Linked DNA regions of Homo sapiens: all the other regions are linked to region 4. The links are contacts of gene promoters, found by promoter capture Hi-C in blood cells and fetal thymus (Javierre and others, 2016). All regions are on one chromosome and are shown on one strand. The core of a region is centred on a gene start or on the middle of the fragment in contact, and the rest is flanking DNA. Distances in the headings are between cores, read along the strand shown. Region 1 overlaps SNX10 (sorting nexin 10). Region 2 overlaps SNX10 (sorting nexin 10). Region 3 overlaps LOC105375199 (a long non-coding RNA gene). Region 4 holds the start of NFE2L3 (NFE2 like bZIP transcription factor 3).

Region 1 (3,035 bases), core at 474-2,973, 150 kb after region 4:
CTCCGCTTGGTGTCTCACCAGTCCCATCACGAGGGCCCCACCCTTTTAACCTCATCTAAACCTAATCACCCCATCAGAGGCCCTGTTTCCAAATACCAACACACTGGGGGTTAGGGCTTTACTATATGCATTTTGGCAGGACACAATTCAACCTATACTGTATATTAAGTAATGAAAGCAAAGTGGAAGAACAGTGGGAGAAATACAATCTTATTTTTTGAAAAAATCTGGAAGGATGATATGCCCCTAATTGTAGACAGTCATTACCTGTGGAGAGTGAGATTAGAAAGGGAAAGGGAATGGCATTATGGAGGATTTCAGCAATTTTTTTTTTTTGAGATGGAGTCTCGCTCTGTTGCCCAGGCTGGAGTGCGGTGGTGCGATCTCGGCTCACTGCAACTTCTGCCTCCCGGGTTCAAGCGATTCTTCTGCCTCAGCCTCCTGAGTAGCTGGGATTACAGGCATGTGCCACCACACTCAGCTAATTTTTGTATTTTTAGTAGAGACGGGGTTTCACCATGTTGGTCAGGCTGGTGGACCTTGTGATCCACCTGCCTCAGCCTCCCAAAGTGCTGGGATTACAGGTGTGAGCCACTGTGCCTGGCCTCTGATTTTTTTTTTCAGCTCACTGCGACCTCTGCCTCCCAAGTTCAAGCAGTTCTTCTGCCTTAGCCTCCCCAGTAGCTGGGATTACAGGTGAGCACCACCATACCCAGATAATTTTTATATTTTTAGTAGAGACAGGGTTTCACCGTGTTGGCTGGTCTCGAACTCGTGACCTCGTGATCTGCCCGCCTTGGCCTCCCAAACTGCTGGGATTACAGGTGTGAGCCACCGCATCTGGCCTATATTTCTATTTTTTTCCCCAAACTTTGAAATAATTTTAAAGTATAAAAAGTGCAGGCTGTGTGCAGTGGCTCACACCTGTAATCCCAGCCCTTTGGGAGGCTGAGGTGGGAGGATTGCTTGAGCCTGGGAATTTGAGATCAGCCTGGGCAACATAGTGAGACCCTGTCTCTGTTTTCAAAAAAACTTTTAAAAAGAATAGAAAAGCCGGGCATGGTGGCTCACGCCTGTAATCCCAGCACTTTGGGAGGCCGAGGCGAGTGGATCTCCTGAGGTCAGGAGTTCAAGACCAGGCTGGCCAGCATGGTGAAACCCTATCTCTACTAAAAATACAAAAATTAGCTGGGCATGGTGGTGCATGCCTGTAATCTCAGCCACTCGGGAGGCTGAGGCAGGAGAATTGCTTAAACCTGGGAGGCAGAGGTTGCAGTGAGCAGAGATTATGCCACTGCACTCTAGCCTGGGCAACAGAGCGAGACTCTGTCTCAAAAATAAATAAAAATAAAACAAAGTGCCAAAATAATAATTTTTTTTTTTTTGGCTTAGGGGAGTAGGGACTGTGTCTTGCTGTGTTGCCCAGGCTGGTCTCAGACTCCTGGCCTCAAGGGATCCTCCTGCCTTGGCTCCCAAAGGGTTTAGGATTACAGGCATGAGCCACTACATCTAGCCCTAAATCTTTTATTTTTAAAGATAATAAGTCTGTTATCCTGAAATAAAATAATACTTAAGACCTGTGGAAAAAAATAACAAAATGATTTGAAGTATTAACAGGGCCCTCCTGCCTAGAGCCTCCCAGCTGAACTGCCTAGGGAGGGGTGGTCTCTGCTAGAGTGGAAGACCTGGTCCTCTGAATTTCCAGGTGAGTGTTCCCAGTTGCCTTTTCTGCTACTTATTTTAAAAGGTTTATCCCAGCCTCCATCTCTGAAGGCAGGATGTATGCAGCAAGAGTATTGCTTAATTCAGAAGGGTGATTTACCCTGGATTTCGTGGTCTTTAAGTGCTTTAAAAGAATTAGGCCGAGCACCGTGTCTCTCACTGTAATCTCAGCATTTTGGGATGCTAAGGTGGGTGAATCACTGGAGCTCAGGAGTTCGAGACCAGCCTGGCCAACATGGCGAAACCCCATCTCTACTAAAAATACAAAAATTAGCCAGGTGTGGTGGCGAGCACCTGTAGTCCCAGCTACTCGGGAGGCTGCGATGGGAGAATCACTTGAGCCTGGGAGGTGGAGGTGGCAGTGAGCCGAGATTGTACCACTGCACTCCAACCTGGGTGACAGAGTGATACTCTGTCTCCAAAAAAAAAAAAAAAAAAAAAAAAAGCCATCATCTCTCAGTTTAGTTGTGTTTTCTGAGTATAGCTTAAAACTAGTTATGTTACTTCATCATTGGTATTCATTGGTGTTTTCTCAGCATCACTATCCCTTCCCAAATCCCCCCAAAAACCACACACAGAGTGTATGTCTAACCAGGCTTTCTGGCATTAACAAGGCCAGATCTTATGTTACTCATTGGTATAGTTAAATGTGTATATTCTCTTGTGCTCAAGAAAGGTGGCTGGCAAGGCAGAATTTATAATGAACTACAGATGTCATGTCCTTGATTTTTTCTTTTCCCTATGTGGTCCGAATCCCTTAGGAAGATAGGAAAGGGAAGTCTTGAGCTCCTTTTTAGATTCAGGCTGGAAATGCCTACTAAATTCCTAATAGCTTCCAAGGTGCTGTGCCTTAAGAAGCCTTGGATTCCTGGGGATGAGAGAACAAAAAAGAGGGTGAGGGGGAACCAAAGGGGGCACCAAAGGCCAAAGACAGACTTCACCCAGGACAAGTCCTGTGTCCAAGGAGTGTGACAAGGCTTTCTGACATGCTTCCAGGAACATTTTGTGTTTATTTGGCATGGCATGTTTTAGGAAGGAGATGGAAACATCTATTTAGTACTCAACCATGTACCACACACTGTCCTGGGTACTTCAGTTTACATTATCTCATTATTCCTGTGATATAGGAGATGCTACAGACATTTTCGACAATTCAGAGATATTTCATGACTTGAACAAATGGAGGAGACAGGATTTGAGCCACAGCTGTTCCCATACCCATTTTTTTTTCCAGTACTTTATTTTAAGAGTCCCACCATTGAGTTTGCTTTTAGAGTCAAAATGCACTCTCTCTGATTTAAAAGTTTTTTATT
Region 2 (3,120 bases), core at 360-2,859, 170 kb after region 4:
TGCCTCTTGGGTTCAAGCGATTCTCCTGCCTCAGCCTCCTGCATAGCTGAGATTAAAGGCACATACTACCACGCCCAGCTAATTTTTTTATTTTTAGTAGAGATGGGGTTTCACCATATTGGCCAGGCTGGTCTTGAACTCCTGACTTCATAATCTGCCTGCCTCGGCCTCTCAAAGTGCTGGGATTACAGACGTGAGCCACCACGCCCGGCTTTCATGGTGATCTTCTAATAGGCCAAATGTCTTCGGCATCTAGGATATGGGAAAGGCCTTTATGGGACTGTTGGTTTGAAGACACATTCAGAATGGAGCTTACTTGAAAGCAATTGGAGTATGCCCAGAATATACTAGAATTTTAAGACGCAAATGTTAGATCACATCGCCTACATTTCTGATGGTAGTCAATCTTGAATAGCCAGGCTAACGCATATTTCCTGTACCAATAGCCGTACACTATTTGCCCAGTGATTTTTTTTTTCCACAGTGTTTGCAGGTATATGTGGTTATTTCTTATAGCTAAGTGTGCAGGGATCCTTGTGCATCCTTTGAGAAAGGCGAGTCTTGCTTTTGTCTCTCTGGTCTGTGAAGATGTACATGTATATGCAGATATCCAATCCAGCTTTTTTATTGGAATAATATCGTTTTTTACACCTTCCATTGTTCTTATATTTTGAAGAAAAAAGTACCAATAATTCAGCCAGTGGTCATACTTATTTATTATTGTTATTATTATTATTTGAGACAGGGTTTCACTCTGTTGCCCAGGTTGGAGTGCAATGGCGAGATCATGGCTCACTGCAATCTCTGCCTCCTGGGCTCAAACAGTCTTCCCATCTTAGCCTCCCGGGTAGCTGGGATTATAGGTGCCTGCCGAAAAAAATGCTTCGCTAATTTTTGTGTTTATTGTACACATGGGGTTTTGCCATGTTGCCCAGGCTGCTTTCGAACTTGAGACTCAAGTGATCTGTTTGCCTTGGCCTCCCAAATTGCTGGGATTACAGGCATGAGCCACTACACCCAGCCCATACTTAATTTTTCTTGTATACTTAATTTTTCTTGTATACTTCCTAAGTGCTTTAAGTACATTATCTGATTTAATCCTTCTAGTAGCTGTATGAAAGAGTCACTTTTTCTCCACATGAGATCCCTTTTTCTCCAAGAGAATATTGAGGCTTTCTCGGAGAGGTTAAGTAACTTGTTCAAGGTCACACAGCCATGAGTGGCATAGTTGGGGATTTGAACCGAGATATGAATGACTCCAAACCTGAACTCTAAACTTTGATGCTGCCTTTCAAGCTAGTTATTGGAGATGATCAAACCCCTGTGTCAGTGGAGGAAGGGAGGTCTGTGTCAAGAGATTTATTGTACTTCTGTGGTCATAAGAGTGGCTTGTGAACAATGTCATGTCTGAAAAGCATTGGGAAGCTTGTTGAATTTAGATTTATTCACTGAATCAGTAGACGTAGATATTGTAGCAGTATCTTTCTAGGCTATTATCTCCTCCTTGAGGAACTCTGGTATATAACAACTGAAAATTAAATATACTTATGAAATGTTAGGAGTTTATGTTTAAAATAGCATTTTTACTTCTTCCTCATTCTTGCCATTTCTGTTCTTCAGTTTCTATGTTAACTGCTTTGCCATTTTCAGGTCAACTACTGTTTGTTGCCTTAAATCTATCTGGGAGCTGCTTCAAATCCATTTGGAAGCAAGGGGAGGATACATTATAAATAAATGATATGTTCAGAGATGGGCAGAGTTGGAAAGACATTTCAGTGAGACGGAAGGCCAGTAAAGCTTTTGTCTATCAGCATCTGATATCATTACAAACATATTGGTCTGGGCTTAGCTTGCTTCTAGACCATCTGGATTTATCTTCAGCTGAGCTAAACCCAGGAAAAAAGACAAAAAAAACCCATTTGGATTTGCTCTGCAGTTCTTATTTTGTTTTTCTTCTAACGCAAACCCTGCTTCAAAAATTAAGTGTTGATTTTGACTGATGATAACAAAACAAAAATACAACCTGATGTGCTAGCTAAGGCGGGGGGGAAATGACAAAAGCCTCAGAGAGCAGGAGCCAAGTGTTCACTTCTCCAGGACGTTTCCTTCCCTAGTACTGGTTTTTCCTAATTCAGCAAAAGAGGAAGAAAGAAGTGTGGGGCTCTTCTTTATTTTATATATCTATATGTATATATATGTTACTTGTATTTATATATTTGTTTATATTTTTAATTAATTAATTTATTTATTTTGAGACAGAGTCTCACTCTGTTGCCCAGGCCAGAGTGCAGTGGTGCAATCTCGGCTCACTGCAACCTCCACCTCCCGGGTTCAAGCGATTCTTCTGCCTCAGCCTCTCGAGTAGCTGGGATTACAGGTGCCCACCAGCACAACCGGCTAGTTTTCATATTTTTAGTAGAGACACGGTTTCACCTTGTTGGCCAGGCTGGTCCCCAACTCTTGACCTCAAGTGATCTGCCTGCCTCGCCCTCCCAAAGTATTGAGATTACAGGTGTGAGCCCCTGCTCCCGGCCTATATTTTTAAATCACAAAAATAATATATAAAAAAAAGTTGTTAATCCTGGAATGTACAAAGTAAAAAAATGAAAGCCCCCTCACCCATCCCACTTCTGTTTACCTTGGCATATATTTTCTGGAATCTTCTTCTTTTTTTAATTTATTTTATTTTATTTTTATTTTTTGAGATGGAGTCTCACTCTGTTGCCCGGGCTGGAGTGCAGTGGTGCGATCTCTGCTCACTGCAATCTCTGCTTCCCGGGTCCAAGTGATTTCTCCTGCCTCAGCCTCCCGAGTAGCTGGGACTACAGGCGCCCGCCACCACGCCCTGCTAATTTTTGTATTTTTACTAGAGACGGGGGTTTCACCATATTGGCCAGGCTGGTCTTGAACTCCTGACCTTTTGATCCGCCTGCCTCGGCCTCCCAAAGTGCTGGGATTACAGGCATGAGCCACCGCACCCAGCCTGGAATCATCTTCTATGCATACAAGCATGTATACACATATGTACACACTTAATGGAATCATGCTGCTATTGTTCAGCCATTTGCTGTTTCCTGTTTGTGCAGCATGGACATCTCTCTATCCCAGGATTTACAGATT
Region 3 (3,176 bases), core at 179-2,678, 200 kb before region 4:
CTGTGTCAGTAGTGATTATCTCAGAAGATCTCCCTGTATATAAGGCCCCATGAACAAGAAAATTTTGTATCAATTAACAAGAGACAAGCTTAGGGGAAGAAGTGCTTCCTGAACATCACCTGCAGACTAGACTATAGCACTCTTGTGGGATCCCAACAAATACGTCGTCCACCCCGCTCCCAACTATTTAAAGAATATTTGAAAGCACTCGAATTCTTTGGCATAAACACTCTTTGAAATGCAAGTTATGTCGAATCCTAGAATTTTACTTCTGGAAGATGTGGTGGGAGATTATATAAAATGGGGAATCAGTGACCCAGCACCATGGCTTCCCAGCTCCTCTGCACGCCCCCCCATATTTCCCAACCCTTGCATTTGAAATTTAAAATGTTCTTTAAAAAATTAAAGGCTTTCAGTGTTGAGTGATAGTCACGCACTGCATAAGGATATTTCAGTCAACAATGGACCAAATATATGACAGTAGTCGCGTAAGATTATAATGAAGCTGAAAAATTCCTACAGCCTAATGATGTCACAGCTGTCATGTCATAGCATTTTTTTTAAATATAGTGTAGCCTAAGTTTATAATATTTATAAAGTCTACAATAGTGTAACGTCCTAGGCCTTCACATTCACTCACCACTCACTGACTCACCCAGAGCAACTTCTAGTCCCACAAGCTCCATGCATGCTAAGTGTCCCATATGGGTGTAACATTTTTTACATTTTATATTGTATTTTTACTGTACCTTTTGTACGGTTAAATAAATCCTTACCATTGTGTTACATTTGCCTACAGCACTCAGTACAGTACCATCCTGCACAGGTTTGTAGCCCAGGAGCACTAGGCTATGGCATACAGCTTAAGTGTGTGGTAGTCTCTACCACCCAGGTTTAAGAACACTCACTCTGTGATGTTTGCAAAAACAATGAAATCGCCTAACACCACGTTTCTCAGAACCTATCCTCATCATTAAGCAATGCATGACTAAAGTTTCAGCTGCACCTGTTTGGTTCATTCACATAAAGTATCTAAAATAAAGACAGGAGTGCCAAGGCCATGCAAAGTAGGTTGCTAGTGATGGTTTCCTTTGCCCAGCGATCTGGGTTAAATGAACACCACGGCCTCCCCAGCGTTCCTTGTTCTTCCTTCCCTGACGTTTATCACCCTTCTGATTATTTTATATTTGTATTGTCTACCTCTTGCATGAGAAAGACCTCCAAGAGGGCAGGGTTCGGGGCCTATTTTGTTCACTGTTGCATTCGTAACGTCTAGAGTAACACCTGATGCTCGGGAGGTGAAAATACACTGATTGCTAAACGACTGAGGTCTATGAGACCATGCCAGGTTTACAGTAAGCACCCCAAGACTGCCGATTTTCCCAGTTCCTATTCCTGGCATCCTTAGCACCAGAGTAAACCACAGCCCTCCTGCTTGGTTAGTCCTTAACTCACTTGTGGTCACAAACAGGAGAAATGCAAATCACTTAAGCATAGAAGTCAAACCAGACTGAATCATGTCAGGGACTCCAAACCTTGCCTTTCTCTGGAGGTGAGAGATCCTGACCTAATTCCTTTGTATGGATGACTACTCTCCCAGTCAACCGCTCCACTCTTTACCTCCCATTCTCTTACAAAGTTGATTTAAGTTTTCTTAAAATTCAGTATATTCAGACTATCTTGTGGAGATGTACAGACATAAGAACTAGGAAAGAGAATCCTCTTCCTCAAGTAAGCATACCTTACATCTCAAATGAACACAAGACGTACTTGAGTTTGGATCACTTTATTTAACTGCACAGAAATAATTCAGCCATTTTTGGGTAAAGGATTGAGGAACAAAAGCAAAGCAGTCACTGATGGAAAAGTGGGAGAATGGATAATGGCCACACAAAAGAGAACACATGCTGCCTTAGGATCAATACACAGCATTTCTGTGAAAAGCAACTGGTAGGTCCTGCCATTAAGCTCTAACATCAAGCAGCTGAATACTTTCTCCCTCATTGAGCCTTCCTCCATTATCATCCCTCTCCCGATGATAAACCACTGGAATATACCTAAGTAAAAAAAATGGTGGCTTTCTTTACCAAGGGCTTCCCAGAGACACAAGCAACCCCCAGGTTTCTGAAGCATCCCATAAAATACATCAGAAGGCCCTTCCCTTACCTGTCAGCACCACGGGCACAGGAACCATTTCCTTTTTTCCCTACCACCCTGCGTCCTGTGCCTGGCCAAAAGCTCATAAAACCAAAACAGGGCAATGTCCATGGAACAGGACTACAATTTGGTGCCAGTCACTGACCCACTATAGAGAGCAGGCTATTGATAGAAACTCACCAACCCAAACCTCCATTCCACTAGGGATGAGAGAGCAGTCTCTCCACCTAAAGGATCTCCACAGCCCAAAAGCATAAATGTCCCCCTCCCCCAGTGGCTTTCAAAATGCTTTCTTGGAAAAAGTTCTTCCTTTCCATTAATAAAACTTACTTTAAAAAACAAAAGTGAACTGCATCTAAATCGGAAGCAGAATTGAGACTAGATCTCCAAACTCAATCCCTGCAGGCTGTCATTTATCCAGCAGGTCGCTTGAGTAAAAGGACCATTATCTGTGGCTTTTGTACAAATACATTTCCTTCTTTAAGGGTAGAGAGTTTAAATTCCTGCAAGGCACTGCACACTAACACACCCATTAATAAATCTGCAGCTCTCCTGGCTCAGTTTAAGTGAGGCCAGTCTTTCAGTACCTGTTAAGCAACCTTGAAAAGTCCAAAGCTTTATTTTTTTCTTCTTTAAACCAAAAAATTCTACAGTCAGGAGTCCACCAGGGTAAGATGAAGAGATTTGGGGGGATTTTGTTCCCATTTACAGGGTTTAACCCACCCGCTTCAAGGGAATTGGTCAAGTTCCTCGTGCTGCACTTGGACCCCCTCTGGCCTTGCCCCTCCCCCAAGGGAAAGGCGCAGCGACGTGGCCACCAGGGCCACTCGGCCTGGCGTCTGGAGCACTGGCGGCATCGGCGACCACAGCCTCTAGAGACAAAGTTCTGTAGTGCACTGACTTCTATCATACTCAGAGTCGGAGTGTCTCAGAACTTTGCCTCAAAAGACCAAACGTGCTGTCTTCCTCCAGAAGTTTCTTCCTGCAGGTGTGTTCCCCCACCCCCCAGCTAAGACAAA
Region 4 (3,221 bases), core at 581-3,080:
CTATTCAGATTTCTCAAAATACATCTCAAGTGTAACCTCCTCAATTCAACTAATATTTTTTTTGAGCATCAACTGTGTGTAAGATTCTGGAGGGCACCGCCTTGAAGAAGGCACCGCCTCTACTCTCAATAGTTTTAGAGCTCCCTATATAAACCTTGAAGTAATTTACATCTAAGTATTTTGGCAATTGAGTACATTATTTCTCTTGTTTCTTAGTGTCTCACAAATTTTTATCTCATCTCCCTAGTAAAACCATAAGCTTACGGAAGGAAAGAACTCCGTTTCATATCCTTCATGCCTCCAGCACAGCCTCAGGCAGTTAGTAGGTTCTCAGTAAAAAGCTGAAGGCAGCATTTACTAAGCTGAGACTCTAAATCCGCTGTTCAAAGACTAAATGCTGTGAACGGGGTCTTGATAACCTGGCAATCACCTTTCTTCATCCTCTTTGCCACCCCAACCCATCTTCCAAGGCTTAACACAGAGGAAGCAACTTTCCTCTGCTCCCCTGTTTCTGCTCCCCTGGTCCCCATTCTTTTCTCTTCTTACTACACTAGCCCAGGAGAGAGATGAGAAAGCCAGGTGGAGGGAGGGGCCTTTTAAAACAAGTCTTGCTCAACTTTTTACACAACTGCCCATTCTCAGTTGGGCATCCCCTCCTGTCCCCTTTTCTTCCAAGGAAGGGAGCTAAGGTTAGTAAAACCTACCCTTGCAAGGCCCAGTGCTGGGTACTGTGCATGGACAAAGGTGAACCAAACAGGTTCCTTGTCCTCAAGAATTTACAATGGGCAAATCAGACCGATTCTCATCTACAACACAGAGTTGAATGGGCCAACTGTTACAATGTTGGCAAACGGAGAAATCACGGTGCAACAGATGGGGGAGAGATTAATGCCAACTGGTGAAAATTCAGAGGATGTAGCTTTGGAGCTAAGCCTTGAGGGTGAGTAACACAAACAATGGGTAGCAGGGAGCACTTCCTACCCATGCAGTGCTGTGGTCGGTGGTTTACATGCATTATCTCATTTGGGGCTCACAAAAGGTCTGCTGGGGAGGTGCTATTATTAGTCTCATTTTACAGTGAGAAAACTGAGGCACAGAGAAAAGGAGAGATTTGTCCAAGGTCGCCCCTCAAGTGGAGGGGGGACTTGAACTCACTCAGGGTAACTGTAGAGCTGGTGCTGTCAACCCTCAAGGAAACAACGGATAAGGAGCAAAGGATACCGAGAGGAGGTCTAGCACTATGCAGAGCACGCCCAGAGAAGAGAGAGGGGTCTGTGAGGCTGGGACTGGGGTGTGCGGAGTGGTGGGATGACTGATCCCAATGGCAACGGTGGAATTTATATGTGAAACTCCGAACTTTACACGAAATATTTCATCTGACCTCAACACATCCCTGTTTGACAGGCTCTATGATCCCCATTTTACAGATAGCGGAACTGAGACAGAGAGGTTACTCTTGCCCACTCTGCCCGCCAAGTGTCCTCACGTTGGGGTGGAAGCCCGTTGCAAGCTGCCAGGCCCCTCGTAGCTGCCCAGTCACTCTCCGCCCAGTCTACACATCCTGTCCCTTCCCACCCAGCTACCCACCACCTAGCCCTCCACCCCAACTCCCGCCCTTGGCTTTCAGCAAGGATGGCCCAGCTCACGGCCACAGGGTGGCAAGGGGCCACTTGGTGCCCAGAACAACTTCTGCTCCCAGAAAGCCTTGCGTTCCCCGGACATAAAGAGGCTTTGAGCTCGGGGAGCCCCGCCCCGTGCGGCCCCTCCCACGGGCGCGGGCCCCGGGCGGCAGGGGGCGTGTTCCTGTCGGCTGCGCCCGCGGCCGGGGGCGGAGCTTGGCCACCGCGCCGGGCTGCGGGCGGCTGGGCGAACGGGCTCGGCGCTCAGGTGGCTCCTTCTTCGCTTCTCCCGATCCCCGGCGGTGCCAGGCACGGTGCCGGCTGCCGAGGGAACGCCTTTGTGCCCGGTGCTGGGAACCCGCGACGGCCGCCACGCGCCCCGGTCCATTGTTTCGCTTATCTGGGTTCCAGGCAGGTGCGGGCGGCGCGCGGGGTCCGCACGTGTCACCCCGGCGGCTGGGGCGCCGGGACCCGCGGGCGCCGGCAGGGGCGTTCCCGGGCGCGCGGCGGCGATGAAGCACCTGAAGCGGTGGTGGTCGGCCGGCGGCGGCCTCCTGCACCTCACCCTCCTGCTGAGCTTGGCGGGGCTCCGCGTAGACCTAGATCTTTACCTGCTGCTGCCGCCGCCCACCCTGCTGCAGGACGAGCTGCTGTTCCTGGGCGGCCCGGCCAGCTCCGCCTACGCGCTCAGCCCCTTCTCGGCCTCGGGAGGGTGGGGGCGCGCGGGCCACTTGCACCCCAAGGGCCGGGAGCTGGACCCTGCCGCGCCGCCCGAGGGCCAGCTGCTCCGGGAGGTGCGCGCGCTCGGGGTCCCCTTCGTCCCTCGCACCAGCGTGGATGCATGGCTGGTGCACAGCGTGGCTGCCGGGAGCGCGGACGAGGCCCACGGGCTGCTCGGCGCCGCCGCCGCCTCGTCCACCGGAGGAGCCGGCGCCAGCGTGGACGGCGGCAGCCAGGCTGTGCAGGGGGGCGGCGGGGACCCCCGAGCGGCTCGGAGTGGCCCCTTGGACGCCGGGGAAGAGGAGAAGGCACCCGCGGAACCGACGGCTCAGGTGCCGGACGCTGGCGGATGTGCGAGCGAGGTAGGTGCAGAGCGGGAAGCGAGCGAAGTGCGGCGTCTACGCCGCCGGGAGCCCCCGAGGCTTGTGTCGGATCTGAGCAGGGGCCACTCTCGCTGTGTCCTGGCACCCTTAGCCCCTGGTCTTTGCAGGTTCGCAGATGCTGCTGCTCTGATTCCGAATGAAGGGCTACTAGTGCTGTCGCTGTGGTTTTTAGGTGTTTAAGGAAGAAGTGGACGAAATCATCCGTTTGGTTATAGAGAATACCTTTCCTTGTGTGTGATGGCTGGCAAGAGTAGTTCGGGGATGGGGAGGGGAGAAGCAATGCCCACTGTCTTCGCTCAGTACCTCATGTACACTGGGGTGTCGTTCTCTGGGACCCGTGCCCGACCTGGACGATGTGAAGGAGGCCGTGACCTCTGGGAGGATGCATGTTTTTAAGAACGACTCTCCCGGCCTAACGCAAGGACCTTCGCCCTGTTTTCAGCCCAATTGCTGTTCGTTTTTGCTGCTTCCCTGGATTAAGGAGCCATGGTCAGGGTCT

Evidence for each region. The method cuts DNA at HindIII sites, captures the fragments that hold promoters and counts their contacts. A CHiCAGO score of 5 or more calls a contact.
Region 1: a fragment that was not itself captured here is called in contact with the fragment with the promoter of NFE2L3 in region 4 in 4 of 17 cell types (activated CD4 T cells, non-activated CD4 T cells, total CD8 T cells and 1 more); the score reaches 8.7 in activated CD4 T cells.
Region 2: a contact is called between a fragment that was not itself captured here and the fragment with the promoter of NFE2L3 in region 4, in 1 of 17 cell types (activated CD4 T cells). The highest score is 5.4, in activated CD4 T cells.
Region 3: a fragment that was not itself captured here is called in contact with the fragment with the promoter of NFE2L3 in region 4 in 1 of 17 cell types (fetal thymus); the score reaches 5.6 in fetal thymus.

The regions. Positions count from the first base shown.
Region 1 is chr7:26,298,878-26,301,912 of GRCh38, forward strand. All of the region lies in intron 1 of SNX10 (sorting nexin 10), which reads left to right. Among named protein-coding and RNA genes, the nearest start is that of SNX10, 8.5 kb to the left of the region's middle. The HindIII fragment of the contact is 7,941 bases long and covers 1-3,035 here.
Region 2 is chr7:26,317,748-26,320,867 of GRCh38, forward strand. All of the region lies in intron 1 of SNX10 (sorting nexin 10), which reads left to right. Among named protein-coding and RNA genes, the nearest start is that of SNX10, 27 kb to the left of the region's middle. The HindIII fragment of the contact is 372 bases long and covers 1,424-1,795 here.
Region 3 is chr7:25,946,887-25,950,062 of GRCh38, forward strand. The region is part of intron 6 of LOC105375199 (a long non-coding RNA gene); the gene reads right to left. It overlaps MIR148A (microRNA 148a), which reads right to left and starts at 3,100; the gene lies at 3,033-3,100. RefSeq lists an enhancer at 1,141-1,210. The HindIII fragment of the contact is 2,684 bases long and covers 87-2,770 here.
Region 4 is chr7:26,150,368-26,153,588 of GRCh38, forward strand. NFE2L3 (NFE2 like bZIP transcription factor 3) reads left to right here and starts at 1,831. Exons shown (of 4, transcript NM_004289.7): 1 at 1,831-2,701. The coding sequence starts at 2,132. RefSeq lists silencers at 1,620-1,999, 2,020-2,089, 2,100-2,169, 2,280-2,529, 2,540-2,609 and enhancers at 1,791-2,585, 2,586-3,221, 2,730-2,919. The HindIII fragment of the contact is 3,470 bases long and covers 258-3,221 here.